Regions from separate parts of the Homo sapiens genome. Here regions 2, 3 and 4 are each linked to region 1. Evidence: promoter capture Hi-C in human tissues and cell types (Jung and others, 2019). All regions are on one chromosome and are shown on one strand. Each heading gives the region's core, a stretch centred on a gene start or on the middle of the fragment in contact. The rest is flanking DNA. Distances are from core to core; before and after follow the strand shown. Region 1 holds the start of ARNT2 (aryl hydrocarbon receptor nuclear translocator 2). Region 2 overlaps LINC00927 (long intergenic non-protein coding RNA 927). Region 3 overlaps LINC00927 (long intergenic non-protein coding RNA 927). Region 4 holds the start of LINC00927 (long intergenic non-protein coding RNA 927).

Region 1 (4,230 bases), core at 646-3,145:
CAAGAGTCCCTATTTCTGCTGATGGAACTGCCTTCCTTGGAATTACACAGGCTCTTCACCTTGGTGTCTCCATGGACACCTCCCCTTTGTCTCTCCTTGGCCTCCTCCTTTACTCTTACTCCAAATCTAATCAGTGCCAAATCTGGAACTCTTCTACCCGCCCAGTGGTGCATTCCTTCCTCTCTGGTCCAGCCATGGCCACCAATTCTGGCCTCCCCAGCACCTGCCTCATTTCATGCTGGCCTCCCTGTCTCAAGTCTTGTTCCCTCCTTAGAATGTTTCCTAGACATAGCTGACAAATCAGTCTTCCAGAAAAAGTGATCATGCGATTTCCTTGTTCAATACCATTGAGGTCTCTCTCTCTCTCTCTCTGTCTCTCTCTCTCTTTTCTATTTTATTTTATTTTTCTGGTTCTTAGGAAGTGTGCAGAGGACTCTCCCTTAATGTGGAGAGAGAAAGTCCATACTCCTCAGTCTGTCCTTTAAAGCCTGGTCACATCCAAACAACTCAGTGTTAAATCCCACTGCTGCCTCTTATATCCCCAGTGCACCAACTACTCACTGACCTCTGCACTTGCTTAGAGCAAGTCCACTGTTACTTACGCCTGCAATGCCCCTCTGCTACTGGCTCTGTATATTCAAACATTCCCGTTTTCAAGGTTCAGCCGAAATGTCCAATCTCCAGAAGCCTTCCCTGGCCGCCTTAGATGAAAGGGATCTTTCATTCCTAATTCTATGATGAGAGACACTTTTCTTTGCTAGGCATTGCTGTTCCTCCCCCGACCCTCCCTATCTCCAACACATGACCTCCCTCTGCTGGGAATTTCCTGGGGGCCGCCCTCTGTGACTCTCCCTGCATCTTCCACAGGGACCCAGCAACCTGCCGTGCCCACAGCAGCCTCTGCACAACACCCAAAAGTTTGTACTAGCTTAGATGTTCACGTTTCTCTTCTCCCACACCCTGCTCATCAGGTAGGGAACTTTCCCAGTGAAAACGGAACTTCCCTACTACAATACCAAAACAAGTCAATGTTGCCACTTGATCAAGAACTCTTCCATTTTTGAAATATTTCCTAATGAGCTCAGTTGTCACAGACTGCACCCTGGGGACAGGTCAGACCAGAAAGCAGAGGATGTCACCTGGGCAGGACCAGGGCTGCTCCACGCTGGTGACCACAGGCTGGGTGTTTTGTGCCCCCGGAGGGTTAGGACACACAGCAGCCAGTCGCAAAGGGCGCAAAGGACCAGCGCTTAGTGGGCGGGGCGGGCAGGGGAGAGTCCCGGGAGTTGTACCCTGTTGAATCCCAGCTCCAAACTTTTCCCTCCGTCAGCGCGGAGCCCTCCACCAGCCAGGACTGGCTGACGCCGTGATGCCACAAAAGCCGGGACCGGAAGAGAAAAATGCGTGGGATGGGGAAGGCAAAGGCGGTTATTTTCAGAACTTCGGGGGCTCCCGGGCCTGCCCTTCGGGTTCCCGAGGATGCGAGGCCAGCGTCCGGCCGCCCGCGGGTCCGGACCGGCGCCTGCCCGGGACCGGATGGGCAGCGATTGGGATGCAGATGCCGCTCTGGTGCTGATGCTGCGGCTGCCGCGTAGTGACAGCCGCTCCACCACCCACCGCGCCGAGCTGCGGCTCCGCGCCCCCGGGGGCGCCCGGCGCGCCTGGTCCGCTCCGGCCCCGGGCAAGGCCTGCGGGCTGCGGCGGGCGGCGGGGCCCAGGCCGCTACTCACCCGGAGGGTTGACCGCCGCCGGGGTTGCCATCTTGCTCGGAGAGGATAGGCGCCCGCTTGGCAGGGGCGCGGGAGGGGCGGCGCGGAGCCCGGCGCTCAGCCCCGGGGACCCGGTCAGGCCCAGGCGCCGCCGCCGCCACACAAAGGACGGCGCGGGCGGGCGGCGCTCCCTCCGCTCTCCCCGCCGCCGCGGCCGCTCGCCGTCCCCGCCTTTCTCTCCTCCTCCTCCCCCTCCTCGGCCTCCTCCTCCCGGTTCAGCCTTTGTCGCGCGGCGGGGGGCGCCCGGCCCGCGGCTCCCCGGTCAGAGCGGTAGCACCGCGAGACTTGGGGCTGCGGACGGCGGGACCCCCAAGTTGGGCGCCGGCGACTGGCGGGGGCAGAGGGCCGGGCGCTCCCTCGGGCTCGCGCAGGTGCTCGGGCCTGGCCGGGCTGGGACCGCAGGCGCCTCTCCCGCGCTCGCCTAGCCCGGGCTGCCCCCGCACGCCCACGCCCCAGGTGTCCGGGCGCGCTTTACCCAGGGGCGCCGTGCCCAGGCCAGGAGGCCAGGGCGGAGCGGGTGAGGGAGAAGCCCATTTAGATTCAGAGGGAAGCCGGTCCTGGGAGACGGCCGCGAGGAACAAAGGCGCCCCAGTGCTGCCCACTTAGCATGCCAGAGCCGCGCTGCTCGGCTCCCAGGCCGGGGACACGGCCCGGTGTTAAGCGGAGGGTGCCCGACCGCGGGAATTCCTAAGGCCACGCGCACCTCCAAGGCCACCGCCGCACACAGCTTCGGAGTGCACAGTGCACACGCCCAGGCACAGGCAGCCGGCCCGAGAAATTGTGAATGTCTTGGCTTTGAGTAAGGCGCTCATCTCTACCCTCCTTCCATAATGACTGCCGTTGATTATTACTTGAGGGCGCTGCAAGGGCCTTATTTACACCACCAAGTTGAGAATTTAAAAAGATTTTTTTTTTTAAATAGGTTTATCTGCGTATCCTGGCGAAGTTTGGATGCAGAGAACTTGGAGCTGTTGTTTTCTACCAGACACTAGGATCCCTGAGAGAGGTAATGGCCCCTAGGAAGGACACGTCACCATCGGGGTCCCCTGTAAAGGTTAAATGGAAGAATAAAGACATCCCAGGTGAACGCTGAGAAGGGCAAGTTGGTCCCTAAACGCAGATAATGTTTGCAGAGACATCAAACTGTCTTAAATCCTTCCAAGGAAGCATTTTCTGGAGGGCAGAAAATTTGGGATGTATGTTCAAATAAGCATTTTCTTCGGGGAGTATTTGTCACTACTAATCTAATAGTCTATCAGTTCTACAAATGTTGAATGTCTGCTGTGTGCCAGGCACAAAGCCAGGTGTTGGGCCTACCATGGAAAGGAAGAAACAGGAGCTCTGTTCTTCTGGTTTGGGGGGTAGAGTGGGGAAGAGTGAAACAAAGTATCTGCACTCAAGAAGCACACAGCTCCCTTGGGGGCTTAGGGCAGAAGCCCTGAAATTGGCATCTCCAGCCTGTAGTCACTAATGAATGAATGAGGGCAGAGAGGAGGTGGAGTGATCAGGGAAAATGAAAATTAGGCTTTGAAGACATGAGTAGGACAGGTGGAAAAAGAAGACATTTCAAGTAAAAAATAAAGCAGGTGTGCACCCAGCCACAAGATAGGCCAGGCCCAGACAGAGAAACCAGGGTATCAGCTATGGCCCGCTCTTGTGCCCCGTATCAAAGTTGACTGTTCCTGATTCCAACATCAAGCCAAATGAGAATTCAGCCTCTCTTCTACATACCCCGAAAAGCAACACACTCAAAATACCAACTTAATTAATGTATAACGTATACTGGACTGAAGATTTCTTAAGGAAAGTAAAAGAGGAGGCTCTCTTCACTCACTCCACATCAAAAAAGGTAAAACTCCATCTCAGATATTTCTGCTACCCAGAGTCCCTTCTGGATCCTTCTCCCCACAGGCAGTTCAATCTCTGGTGGCCCATAAATAGCCCATAAATAGCACTTGGCATCACTGCCCCCTATCCCACGAGGCTCTTTTATTCTCCAACTTTCCACACCCCTTAGAAGGAAGCAAGTTCCTCTCCTTGGTGTTTATGTATCAGTTTAGCATTTCAGCCAGGACCCATGGCTCATTTTGTCTCCAAATACAGTTCTAATATCATCCCTAAAAAATAAAATATGAGTGAACATGACTCTTACGCACACACACATTTAACCATACAAATTTGTTGACAAGTTTTACTTTCTTACTCTGCTGTTGTGTTCTGCCCATTTTTCTAAATGTTACTCGGCTGATATCTTTAAAACTGGATCTTGCTCAAGCTTCCTACTTCTTGCACTGGTCCATTGCAATAAAAGACAGGCGACACGTGGACAACTGCTAGACACTTCCCAAGTCTGGAGTCGGCCGTGCTGTGGTTTTTGGTACGTAATAAATACGTTTAGATTTTCACAAAGGAGACATTTCATCTTCTCCCCCAGTCAGTGTATTTCAGAGGTAGAAAGGAC
Region 2 (4,230 bases), core at 1,136-3,635, 130 kb after region 1:
CTGTCACCCTCAGGAAGCATCATGACAGCTTGATGCTGGCAGCAACTGTCCATGAAGAGGGGAAGAGTGACAATGCAGGAAAGAGAAGAAGACTCAAGACACAAAGTCCTCAGGGGGCGAGGGTCACCTCCTTCTACCAGGCCAGAGAGCAGAACGTGTGGGAACAAGGGCAGGCAAGCTCGTGGAGGTGGTGGTTGAAAGGTGAGAATTGGAATATAATTTCCATCCAGGGAAGGAAGTGTCCCCTTTAGAGTAACAACACCTTGGGCACACCATTAACAAATGACAGACTTGGGCTCTGCTGCTCAGAGAACTGAAGTCAGAGGATAGCACATGCATTCTTAGCTGAGAAGTTCATAAGAGCTATAAGAACCTGTGTGATGTTTCCTGGAAAGTACTCGGGAACAGGAATCAGGAAACCTGAGTTTGAGTCCCTTTCTTGCCACCAAATCCATCATCAGATGACACTTGAACATGCCTCTCAAAGGATGAGATTAGGCAAGATCATCTCTCTACCAAACCCTCTTCTCTCACTTCCCAAGAAGAGAGATTGCCTGGCCCTGCTTGAATGTCATGAACAGGTGTGCTGGGGGGTCTAGTCTGGACCAGGTAGCTCCCACCAGGACAGAGCTGCCAACTGCACATGGAGACCCTGAAGCTTTTTTGGCCTTTAACCAGCTCCTGAGCTGCTGCAACTCACAGAGAAAGGAAATAGCATAATGGGCCAATGACAAGTTATATAATTTGGTTGAAACTTCAAACAACAGGACCCATATGGATAGGAAATTATTTTAAATGGACTCAAATGTCTAATTTACATAATCTATGTTTCTTGTTCATATTTGCACCCAGTGGGTGGTTATATGAATATTTGAATACTTGATGACTGATTAATAGAATATAATTTGCCAGGACCCTTCACTGTTGAGAAGGGTTTGAACGAACTGCCTTTTTTTTTCTTACCCCATATATGGAAGAAAGTAAAAAAGTTTCAGAATGAGTTTAGGATAATTATACTACATCTTAAATGTTTACATTTACCAAAACGACACACAAACGCAACACATCTTATGTATAAGCCTCATTTGGAGTCCGTGTCCAAGGTCCTCTGTGAGGTCCTTGGTGACCCTGGTCCTGACATTCATCCTCCCCTACATGTCAGGGTCTGTTATTTACATCTTACAGTTTGGCTACAAATCCTCCAGCTAAAACTCTTACCAGATCGGCCATCAGAAGACCAAGCATGACTCCCCACCCTCAACTTTGTTCCTCCCTCAACGCGTCACTTTGGGCAGCGTATTCCCTGGGCCTGGAAAAGGAAAGGATTGCCTTTCGATGAACCCCAGCAACGTAACTAAGTTCACTTTTGACTCCTGATAGGCTTTTTCATCAAGAATTTTAATTTGGCTTCTTCGTCAAGAATTTTAATTCCACACACACCACAGAGCTGGTTTTATAGAGGTCAATCTAAGCCTTCGGTCAAATTTTCTCCCCCTCATCCCCATGAACAGCCTTGCTTTGCCTCTTTCTCTCACCACATCTATAGCAAGTCCACTGTGGGTCACGGCAGCTCCCTGCAGATATTGGATTTGTGGTGCAGAGGGGGACGCCCTTTCTGAGAGTGAGACAGAAGGGACAGGGTGGGCCAGCCTCCTGCAAAGACTCCATCAGACAGGTGCAAATGCATGCCCAAGAAGGATGGCAGGGAGGCCACATGCAGCACCATCACGCTTTATCATGATGGGTCCATGGCCCTTCCTCCCAGGGGACCTAGCCTTGGGAGATTTGCGAAAAAAGAAAGTCACAAATATGCAAAGTTTCACCGTGAAATGGGCATTGGGCTTGCCAGGGCTGGCCTTGGTAGCATCCTTCCATGTCCCCTTCCCCTGGGTTGCAAGAACCACGTGCTTGCCCAAGTCTTTATATCACTGGGGAATAACTTGACTCCTTCTTCTCTTTCAATCTCTCTCAATCTCTCTCTCTCTATCTCTGAAAGCAAGTAATGGCAATGAGTCAACAGAAATACTGTAGGTGACCTGTCTGAGAGGCCCCAGGCCTCTAGTGTGGGCAAGGGACATGAAGCCTGAAGTTTTTATCTATTTGCACGTTCCCTAGAGAAACAGGAGGAAAATTATGCCAGAGATGTCTCACAGCACATATGTACTTTACAGTAGATAAAATTGTTTAAAATCTCATGAAAAATGGCTCAAAATATAAGTTTACATGGTTGAATATCTGTTGGGGTCTCTCAGATGTGCAAAGAACATCTGTCTCTTCACACTGTATGATTTAATCTTCCTTATGAGCCTCCCATGGCAGGGTGATGTCAGTGACATTGATGTCCCTTTAAGCAATCCCCATTCATCTCTTATAACAGAGCCTAGTAGGTGAATCTCAGCCTTGCAGATCTCACTCCTGTGCCCTCCTTCTGCTGGACACTGGCAGTCAGAGGTCTTGGCAGCCTGAACAGAGGGAATGCTGTGCTGGGTTAGAAGAACAAGAGTGGTAATATTGTCCCCCTTCTCCATCCATGTCAGCCCCAGTAATAGCTGATGTCTGTGTGTGGCAGACATTCTGTGCCCAGGCATCTGTGCATCCACACCACATGCCTACACTCTGATGCCGCCAGTGAGTTCTCCAGAAGCAGATGCTGAAATGGAGCTGGGCTCACACGATGCTGATAAGGGGTCACATCTGAGAAAGGAAGGTGCCACAGGCACAGACCGAGGGAAGTCATCCTGTGCTGGGGGCCCAGCGCAGCCCCTGCCAACCGAGCTGGTCACTACAGAGTGAGAAGTATCATCAGAGTTGTACAGCATCAGGCTGACATGGCTGGGTCTTTGTACCTTTGGTGAGGTGGGTCTCTGAGGCTGAGGCTGTCCCCGAGGGGCCAACAGCAGTGGCCACATTGCAGAGGTGGGCAGCAGACCCTCCCCAAAGGTATCCCAGCATCCGTGTCTGCATCTGGCACACTGGCCTATGAAATTCCTGCTATGCTGGTGCTGGGGCAAACTTCCCTCACGATGGAGAGCCTGGGATGTCGGCATGGGAGATGTTTGGGCACAGTCTCCTGTCAGACCCTCAGACAGGAAGAGAAGCAGGAACCCCTTAGATTTCAGGACCTCCTCCCTCCCCCAGATCCAGGATTTGAGCCTGGAGAAAGGAAATGATGACCAACAAGTCAGCCACATGTCCCCTTTGTCCCTTCCACGATGCCCCGACCAGAAGGGACAGCTACCCCCAAATCCCCCCTTCCTGAGGTGGTGTCACACTGACCCTTATCCCTCCTGGTGACCAATGCAGAGATAGAAAGCACCTTAGAGAGAAACAGAACTCGAGGGATCTTCCAAAAACATACTGTTTGTCACCTGTATCTTCACTGAGGGCAGAGGTGACTCCTTGGTAGCCCTAGTCCCTGAGATTGGGCTTCCTTGGTGACTGAGCTTGTCCCTCTGTCCACACAGGGCTCCAACAGTGGCTCCTGTTGGAAGCCTCAGAAACCTCTCTAGCCCATGCAGCCAAAGTGGAGGAATTGAAGGCAGCTCATGACATCCAAGGGAGAGCTGAATATCCAGCTTCAGGAAGAGGGGAGCCCGGGTGGTGTCAGAGGCCTGGGGGCTGCAGCCTGGGACTCCTTTCGATGCCACTGCCACAGACAGACCAGACCTGTGACTCTCTCTGTGCCTCAGAATCCCAAGACACAGAATCAGGTGCCCCAGCTGGGGTCAGCGGTGACCAATCAGCCTGTGGCCAGGGGCCAGGTCCCATGGGATCGACACCCTGCCAGGGTCCTTCTCAAGGGAAAATGGCTGTAAGCCAGGCCACTCCCAGATGGTGCTGATGAGAAATGAGCTAAGAAATAATAGAACTTCTCTAGGATCGTGAGGACTGGGGAGGGGTGAGTCATCTTTCAGTGCCTGGGAGGCCTTTTTAGTCTGGCACATGGCAGATGGTGCTAAGGCCAAACCAGGAAGTTATTCAGTTCCATAAACACAGATGCCACTCAAACTCCAGCCCAGCTGATTACAAATAGATATCCTTAGTCACTAAAAGATGGTCCTCATTTCCTCCCATTCCAAACCCTCCCTATGCATCCTGATCAAGTGTGTCAAGTGTGTCTTGCCAGGCCACACTCAACTGTTATCACTGTCATAATAAGATGCTTCAAGGGACTTCACAGACCCCAACACTCTATGAGTTGGTTCCAAGCTCATCCCATACCATAACAGC
Region 3 (4,230 bases), core at 888-3,387, 85 kb after region 1:
CTACTAAAAAATTAAAAAATTAGCTGGGAGTGGTGGCATGTGTCTGTAGCCCCAGGTACTCAGGAGGCTGAGGCAAGAGAATCTCTTGAGCCCAGGAGTTCGAGGCTGCAGTGAGCTATGATTGCACCACTGCACTCCAGCCTGAGTGACAGAGCAAGACCCTGTTTCTAAAAATAAATAAATTTTTTTTAAAAAGTGACTCAATTTAAAGTCTAGAGGTCTACAAACAAACAAAAAGCCAAACATGAACAACTACTTTAGGACAAAACTATCTTCCTCTAAAAACAGAAGCGCATACACTGACGTAATTCTCTCTCTCTGGCAGACAGGTTTCTAAGACAGCCACCGATGGGTCCTACCTCCTCGTATTCACATCCTATGTAATCTCCTCCCCAGTGTGGGCTGGACCTGGTGACTTGCTTCCAGTGAATAGAATATAGCAAAAGTGATTGATGTCACCTCCAAGATTCAGCTATAGAAGACTATGACTATGACTTTCCTCTTGGCTAGCATTCTCGCTAACCCTTCCTGCTTGCTTGTACTGAGCTGCCCTATGAAGAGGCCCATGTAGGGTGGCCTGGGTGGGGGTGATCTGTGGCCAACAGCCAGCAAGGAACTAAATCCTGTTTACAACCACATGAGCTTGGAAGGAGATCCTTCCCCAGTAAAGCCAGGAGATGAATACAGCCCCAGCCTCCAGCTTCATTGCAGCATCGTGAGACACCCACAAGCAGGACTCAGCTAAGCCACAGCCAGAATTCTGTCCCACAGAACTTCAAGACAACTAGTGCTGTTGCTTTTCAGCTGCAGAGTTTTGACATAATTTGTTGTATAGCAATAGCCAGCTAGTTATCAATAACCACTATTGCTCCTATTGTTTCTCACCACATATCCATATAGTCATGAGGAAACCTCTTTAAATGAGACAAAGAATCAGAACTAATAAAAGATAAGCAAATTCCTTTAAATATACATTTTAATTTTACATGGTAAAATATTTCAAACTGAAAGCAACTGATTTCTATTTGCAATTTCACAGAGAAGCTGGATATCATAAATTCAGCAGATGAATGGTAGACTAGAGAAAATTCAATGCATATGGTAGATAGTAAATTAATATCTATAATGTACAAATTAATTTTTAAAAGGCTAAGAATACCCATTACAGAAAAGCATAGCCAAATGGCTAATCAGCCTACGAAGAGATATTCAAAACCCTTTGAAGTCAGAGAATTGCAAGACAAATAGTGTATTATCATTTTCAGCCCACCAGACTGAGAAAATTAAAATGAATTGTAAACCATCTTTCTGGTAAGCATTCAGGGAAGCCAGGGAATTGTTTTAAATCATTAGAAAACAATCTGACTATATGTTTTAAAACTAAAAACATACTCTTTGATCCTATAATCTCACTTCTCGGATTCTAACCTTAGAAAAAAATGCACCAAAACATAAAATTTTATGGACAAGAATGTTTATTACAGTGTATTTGTAGTGGCTCCAAACCAGAAACAACTTGCATGTGTGTCAGTAAAGGGGATGTTGAATAAGGTGCATCAATATACTATGCAGGATACAATACCTGTGTAGCAGCAAATGAGTTTGTGCATCAGTTTCCATGTTGACTGAGGACAGCAATGTTCAGGGTAGTATGCATGAGGCTATCTCATTTGTTTTTCAAAAGCAATGATCCCTCAAATCTGATTTTACTCACACACGTGGTATACGTAAATAGATCAGATAGATGCATAGATACATAGACATAGGGACATAGACACAGACACAGACACAGACATAGACATAGACACCATAGACATAGAGAGCAGAATGGAAAAATACCCATTAGGTTCTTAACATATATTGGGCATGGGGTGTAAAGAGAGAAGTGGGGAGAGTGAGTGAAGAGATAGAAGAGAGGAGGGGGAGAAACAAGCAAAAAAAAAATGAGAACCTAAATGAGCATTTAAAATGAAGTCTACAGTAAATGCAGCACAATCCCACTTGTGTAAATGTTATGTGTGTGTGTACACAGATATGTGTGTGCATGAGGACATACACAAAATCATGATGGTTGGAAGGGTTAATGGTGACCCTGCCAGGAGGTCTGATTTCACGGGCTTGCCCCATCCCCCTTTTTTCTTTATACTGTTATGTATTGTTTTATTTTTCCCCCAACAAACATGTATTATTTATATAACGGGGGAGAGAAAAAAGTCAATTTCCACTATGGAAATAAAAGAGCCCATTTATCACTTTTATGTGCTTTATGTATTGGAGTCTCAAGTGAAGAAGATTTCATTAAAAAAAAAAAAAGAGTTACACCACAAAAAATGTTTGCCAAACTCTGCTCTAGACAATACCAACTTTCTCCCTCACCCTCAAGCCTATGGAATTGCAGAATAGATTAGTATCTCTGTTTGCAGGAGAAAAATGAAATTTGCAAAAATGAATAATAAGCAAATGCTTGTTGAATTAAAACACATTGCAAATGACAATTTACAAGACAGGCTGAAACTGGCAGCCAGAGGCTGCATCCAGCTCACAGATGAGTCTGTTAGGCCCACACCGTGCTACAAAAAATGAATTCATTAATAACATACAAAGTTAGTAGAGTCCACTCTTTTTACTTTTTATTTGTATTATATTATATTTTATTTTATTTTGAGACAGAATCTCTCTCTGTCGCCAGGCTGGGGTGCAGTGGTGCCATCTTGGCTCACTGCAACCTCCGCCTCCTGGGTTCAAGTGATTCTCCTGCCTCAGCCCCTTGAGTAGCTGGGATTACAGACACATGCCACCACACCCAGCTAATTTTTGTATTTTTAGTAGAGACGGGGTTTCATCATGTTGGCCAGGATGGTCTCAATTGAGTCCACTTTTTAAAAAATATCTGGAAATAAGCTTTCTTTTGTAAAACCCAATTTTCTGGAGACATTGGGCACACATTTGCACATGACAAAAATGAGCCCAAGCTTCTTTGTGACTGTCCCCTTTGACCAGAACTCACGCTTTCCAATCCCCATGCTTCCTACAAGGGCTCTTTGTCAAATCACCTGCCTGGCAACTGCCATCACTCTAGGTGGCTACCCTGACTTACTGATATAGGGACAGGGAGGGTCAGGAAATGATCCAAGGACTCACTCTGATTGCCCAGAACTAGGACCAGGGTCCACTGGGAGCTGTATGCAGAACAGGCGGCTTCAGCTTCCATGGGATCTAAGATTCCCAGGTTCTAGGAGCCACATTTCCAGACAACTGCTGCTGTAGACTAAATGTTTATGCTCCTCTGAAATTCATATGTTAAATCCTAGTCCTCAAGGCAATGGCATTTAAAGGAGGGGACATTGGAAGGCAGAGCTCTCATGAATGGGATTCATGCCCTTATTAAAGAAGCCTCAGAAAACTGCCATGCCCCTTCTACCACCTGAGGGCACAGCGAGAAGACAGCCAAACCTGGGAGGGGGCCCTCACCAGGCGTAGAATCTGCTGGTACTTTGATCTAGGACTTCCCAGCCTAGAGAACTGTGAAAAATAAATTTCTATTGTTTATAAGCCACCCAGTCTATGGTATTTTGTTGCAGCAGCCCAAATGAACTGAAACAACTCCTCTGACAGCTACACCCAATCCACAGTGCTGGTCAAAGCAGTGTGTGAGTCCTTTGCTCCAAGGCTGCTCGCCCATGTCCTACACAAGAGGCCAGCAGGAGCCTGAGGAACACACCCCCCACCTCACTGTGTGTGTGTGCCTGGCAAAGCACCCTGCCCAGAACCCTCTCCGCCAGGGCCTTGGGAGGAGAGGGGACGTCCAGCCTCTTCTCTTACTGATCTTACCTTTGTAAGTTCCTCCTTTCCAAAATAAAGCCTATTCCTAAACTTGTGCTGGGTGATGTGGAATTCATTTGAGGAGACCCTGTTGCCAGACAGCGGCAGCATTGGTCTCGCAATCCCTCCTCCTTGGGGAATTCTTGTCCTCTCACCCAGGGGAGGTTCAGACAGTAGCTCTGTTCATGGCCCTTGGCTTATTGCATCACCCTTGTTCTGAATGACTCTTCTTCCACCCACGTCATCTGCTCCTGCTTCCCAAGCTGGCCTAATGGGCTGGCAGCATCAGAACTGATCATTTGGTGACAGAGCATTCTCAGCCTTTTGCTCAGCACATGAGCTAAGTATGATCTGATCCAAGAACAGAAACTGCCTCGGCCGTGTAGGTTTCCCCAGCTGAATTTCTCT
Region 4 (4,230 bases), core at 519-3,018, 64 kb after region 1:
CACCTATCACCAGTTGCCAGGTGTGCCTGTCGTCGTGGCCCACCCCACTGGACTAGGTCAGCAATGATGTCACACAGGGCTCTGGAAGCTTGGCGCTCACTCAGCTCCCAGAAGTTCTCAGAGGGTGAGGGTCCCACATCTCCTGCAGGACAGGCCCTAGCTACTGAGTCACAGAAACCCAGGGCCGAAGCAAAGTCCCAATCCCAGAGAGGCTGGGGCACACCTACAACTGAAAGGAGGCTTAGAAATCCTTCAGAGACCACCCTATCGGTTCTCCTCCACCTGGACAGGATGAGCCAGCAACACAGAAGGAAGAGGCCTTCCTCCGAAAGGTAGGGGATGAAGCTGCCTCTCAGGGATCAGAGCTGGGCCGCAGGGCTCTGATGTCCCCTGGACACCTCGTCAGAAAAGGAACATGTAGGATTTGGAGTGCAGGATGAGGCTGGCTGAGGTTTCCCTGAGGAAGTTCTCACTGTTGTCTAGTGGACAATTAACAAAAGTTTGTAATGGGAAGGAATAACTGAAGGAATAAATGAATGGGAGAACCAAAAAATTCTCCTGTGAGTCTGAAGGGCTTTTCTGAATAGGGGCAGATGACTGTCTCAGGTGTTTAAGCCTGGGTCCTTATGTCCATGGAAAGGACGAAGTGGGCAAGTGGGACAGAGAGCATAGCCAGAACGGGTGGGTAGGGAGACCTGTCCTTCAGTTCCTCATTACTTATGAGAAAGAATTCACATATCACTTGAGGAATTAAGGAAATAACAGCAGTAGGTATGGAAGTGGGAGCTGGAGGGAGCTCACACTGACCCCGGGCCCCCGACACTGACAGAGTGAGTTCTGCAGCTGCCCCCAGCCTGGATGGGGAGGAGGGCTGGGCAGACCCCAGTCCCCCATGCTGCAGAATCTTCCCTTCTCCTCCTCTGTTTCCTGCCCACCTCTTCCTGGGGCTTCACAACCCCTCACAGCCAAGTCTCACTTCAGAATCGGATTTTAAATTCCTGCTCTAATTAACGGAGCTTCTGCTATTATCATAGTTTTGCACCCTTTCCCCGCCCAGTGTCTGCACCCTACACCTTCTCTGGCCAGCACCTGGGCTGCCCTCCCCTGGCACCACCCTGTGTCTTGTTGTTTATTTGGTCCTCTCACCCCTCCCAAGAGTTCCTCTTCAACTGTGTCTCTGCTTGCAAGATTTACCCAGTCCCATCCACAAACTGCTCTCATCTGTTTTGATCCTGAACCTCCAATCTACTCTCATATCCAGAAACTAGCACAGACCCTTAGGCTGACATATCCAGCCCCCAGGTCCACTCGGTGGAGGTTTTTATACCTGGGCCATTGGCGCTTGCGGCATCAAAAGGCTCTCAGATACGGATGTCTGTTTTCTGCCTTTTCCCTGATGGGGTCCATCTAACAAGAACATGTGAGGGAGTTTCTGTTCAGAGCAAGGCCATTTTAACTTTTAACTGTTACTTAGAAAAAGCACAAGAAAGATGGACACATGGCAGAGTCTTAAAGTCAAAGAAGTATTCTGTAAGCATAATTCTTCCTATGAATGCCTTCTCTATAAAGAGGTTGAAGCAAGGTGAGCAATTCTCCTGTTTGAATGCTAACACTAAATGTGCTAAGAAAATCACTTTCATAGACACATCTCAGAGAACTACATATTATGTATGTTAAGGAGAAATTAGATTGTTTCCAAGTCCCAGAGAAGCAAATTAATTTGGCATTAAACAAATGTTGCAATACAGGAAAGAAATTATCTTTAAGATCCTCCATTACAAACCAGAAAAGTCCCAGTATGTATGATAATGTTTTCAGTGTAGCTCGTTATAAGGCACTGCTACCACTTGTACCACTGTGTGCAGGAACTCTGTCTCCCATAGTGGTTCCCCCAAATGTTTGCAGGCCAATGATAGACATCTGGAAAGATGAAAGATGTCATGGGATTTCAAAACAAGAGGGAGAACAATAGGGATGGAGAAGTCCCCAGGATCCCTGAGACCAGATAGGGATCCCTGGGCTCACAGACAAGGACGCAGGGCCAGCGAGTTCATGTGCACTACCTCCATTCTCAGAGGCCTCCACCCCAGGGCACAGGGCCACGCAGCCTTCAACATCTGAATGCAAAAGCCCAGGCTTGCATTTTCCAGATGATAAGGAAGGAAATTTTATGATTCTTAGAGGCACCAAAGTTGAAGAGGTCTGGCCTCTCCAGGGTGAGCACAAGCTGGGGTTTTTCCAACTGTCCAAAGTGATTTGGCCAAAATCTTTTTCCTTAAAATCTGCATCTTTCCAGTTAATGTCCTCCAAATGCAGTCCTGGAAAGTAGCCTTGGATGTACCAGGTTGGGTTTTCCTTTACACCAGTCAGGAGAGGAAGGTGGGAGTGGCACATCAGAGAATCTTCTAGAATCTTCTAGTGGTTACATAGTGAGTTGCACATCATGTCCAGCCTTCTTCCTTCCAAGTAGACAGGTACACTCCAGAGTTGTTTGGAAAATAATGCATTAACCTTTACATATTTCTTTTGGTCATTCATAGGTATAGAGGCCAGAAGAGGTCATTGTCTCCAAATAGCAAGCAAGACCTCTCCGAGGCTAACTTTGTGCAGTCTGTAGGTGTATTCATGCCGTGGCTCAAATCTTTAAATCCAACTTTAAAGATATTTTTATCCTTATTCAAAAAACATATCCAAAATTAAAAATATATATGTGCTTTTTTTTTAACTTAGAAAACTCTTATATCCCTACTTAAACATGTGCAAAGTACAAAACTTTAAAAAGACAAAGTTATAATCAGAACTGCCCCTCAAATGTAAATTGCACCTCTCCTTGAAGGTACCAGTGTGAAAAAGCACTTGTATATCCTTCTATATATTTCTCTTTGCTCAGACACACACATATATATAGTCACAGGCACACACGTACAGCTGTTTGCTGTGCTCTTTTGGAAACTGGGTCACGCTCTACCCACATTGCTCTGCACATTTTTTCAATTGACTACCATGCTTTCCTGTTAAGTCAGTAGATATAGTGCTAACACTGTGTTTTTTGTTCTAATCTAAGTCATTTAACATAAATTAATTTCATCTATAACAAAAATATAGTATACCTTATATACACTTACATAAACTACAGAATGAAAATGCATATCTAACTCTCCACTTTATGTCCCTGTCCCACAAGTGAATCACAATAATTCATACCAATAATCTGGTAAGCAGTCTATCTTATTATCCTTGCTTGCACAATCATACACACACACAAACATGTGCATCTACTCTTTTATGCACATATAAATACATATAGGTATTCAAATATATTCAAGTATTTGTTAATTTTACTCAAATGGGCACATTTTATATATACTAGTCTGCATCTTGATTTTTTCCTTAACTATTAATTCAAGGAGATTTTTGTTGCTCAATTGCTGTAGCTCTATTTCATTCTAATGACTACCAAATACTATTGAATGATGTGGCTGTGCTATGAATTATTTTCTTTCTTCTTTTTTTTTTTTTTTTGAGACAGAGTCTCGCTGTGTCACCCAGGCTGGAGTGCAGTGGCACATCTCCACTCACTGCAAGCTCCGCCTCCCAGGTTCATGGCATTCTCCTGCCTCAGCCTCCCGATTAGCTGGGACTACAGGCACCCACCACCACGCCTGGCTAATTATTTTTTTAATTTAATATTGTAATTTATTTCATAAATTATGCTGACTCAACTGATTATTATTCTGGAAAAAATACCACTGTACCACATATATTTACAGAATTAAAGAAAAAATGAATTAACAATTTTAATAGAAAATTAGAAGGGAAATGTAGGAATATTTTCTTAACCTGGATAGGAAACCCAGAAACTATAAGAGAAAAGACAGATGTAATTGACCATAAAACATTTAAGCAACTGAAGTGGAGAAAAAAAGCTTGGAAAACAATGTAGTACATGAACAATAGAATTGGAAGATTATTTTATATGTAGATGACAACAACATAACTTTGTATTTCATACGAAAGGGGCAAAATTGGGCAGTCGAAAAATAAACAAATGAAGCTAATCATTGGGAGCAAATCCAAATGCCCAGTAAACATAATCAGCATTGTTCAAAAAACTGGTAGTAAAGAAACTATCCATCAAAGTGCCAGTGAAACTAGCAAAATTAAAAATCAGTGACCCCTGGTGCTAGCTGGGCTGTAGAGGAGACGGATCCTGTCAGACATAGTTGGAAA

What was found. The method cuts DNA at HindIII sites, captures the fragments that hold promoters and counts their contacts. A contact is called where the count stands out against the background at its distance.
Region 2: a fragment that was not itself captured here is called in contact with the fragment with the promoter of ARNT2 in region 1 in 2 of the 25 tissues and cell types used here (dorsolateral prefrontal cortex and liver).
Region 3: a contact is called between a fragment that was not itself captured here and the fragment with the promoter of ARNT2 in region 1, in 3 of the 25 tissues and cell types used here (adrenal gland, hippocampus and mesendoderm cells).
Region 4: a fragment that was not itself captured here is called in contact with the fragment with the promoter of ARNT2 in region 1 in 2 of the 25 tissues and cell types used here (bladder and ovary).

Annotation. Positions count from the first base shown.
Region 1 is chr15:80,402,047-80,406,276 of GRCh38, reverse strand. ARNT2 (aryl hydrocarbon receptor nuclear translocator 2) reads right to left here and starts at 1,895. Exons shown (of 19, transcript NM_014862.4): 1 at 1,731-1,895. The coding sequence starts at 1,761. ARNT2-DT (ARNT2 divergent transcript) reads left to right here and starts at 2,081. Exons shown (of 6, transcript NR_184070.1): 1 at 2,081-2,286; 2 at 2,692-2,775. RefSeq lists an enhancer at 1,964-2,464. The HindIII fragment of the contact is 10,967 bases long and covers 1-4,230 here.
Region 2 is chr15:80,275,831-80,280,060 of GRCh38, reverse strand. All of the region lies in intron 2 of LINC00927 (long intergenic non-protein coding RNA 927), which reads left to right. Among named protein-coding and RNA genes, the nearest start is that of CTXND1, 26 kb to the right of the region's middle. The HindIII fragment of the contact is 5,478 bases long and covers 1-4,230 here.
Region 3 is chr15:80,317,451-80,321,680 of GRCh38, reverse strand. The region is part of intron 1 of LINC00927 (long intergenic non-protein coding RNA 927); the gene reads left to right. Among named protein-coding and RNA genes, the nearest start is that of LINC00927, 22 kb to the left of the region's middle. RefSeq lists an enhancer at 3,384-3,884. The HindIII fragment of the contact is 6,133 bases long and covers 1-4,230 here.
Region 4 is chr15:80,337,658-80,341,887 of GRCh38, reverse strand. LINC00927 (long intergenic non-protein coding RNA 927) reads left to right here and starts at 83. Exons shown (of 3, transcript NR_033833.1): 1 at 83-332. The HindIII fragment of the contact is 5,859 bases long and covers 1-4,230 here.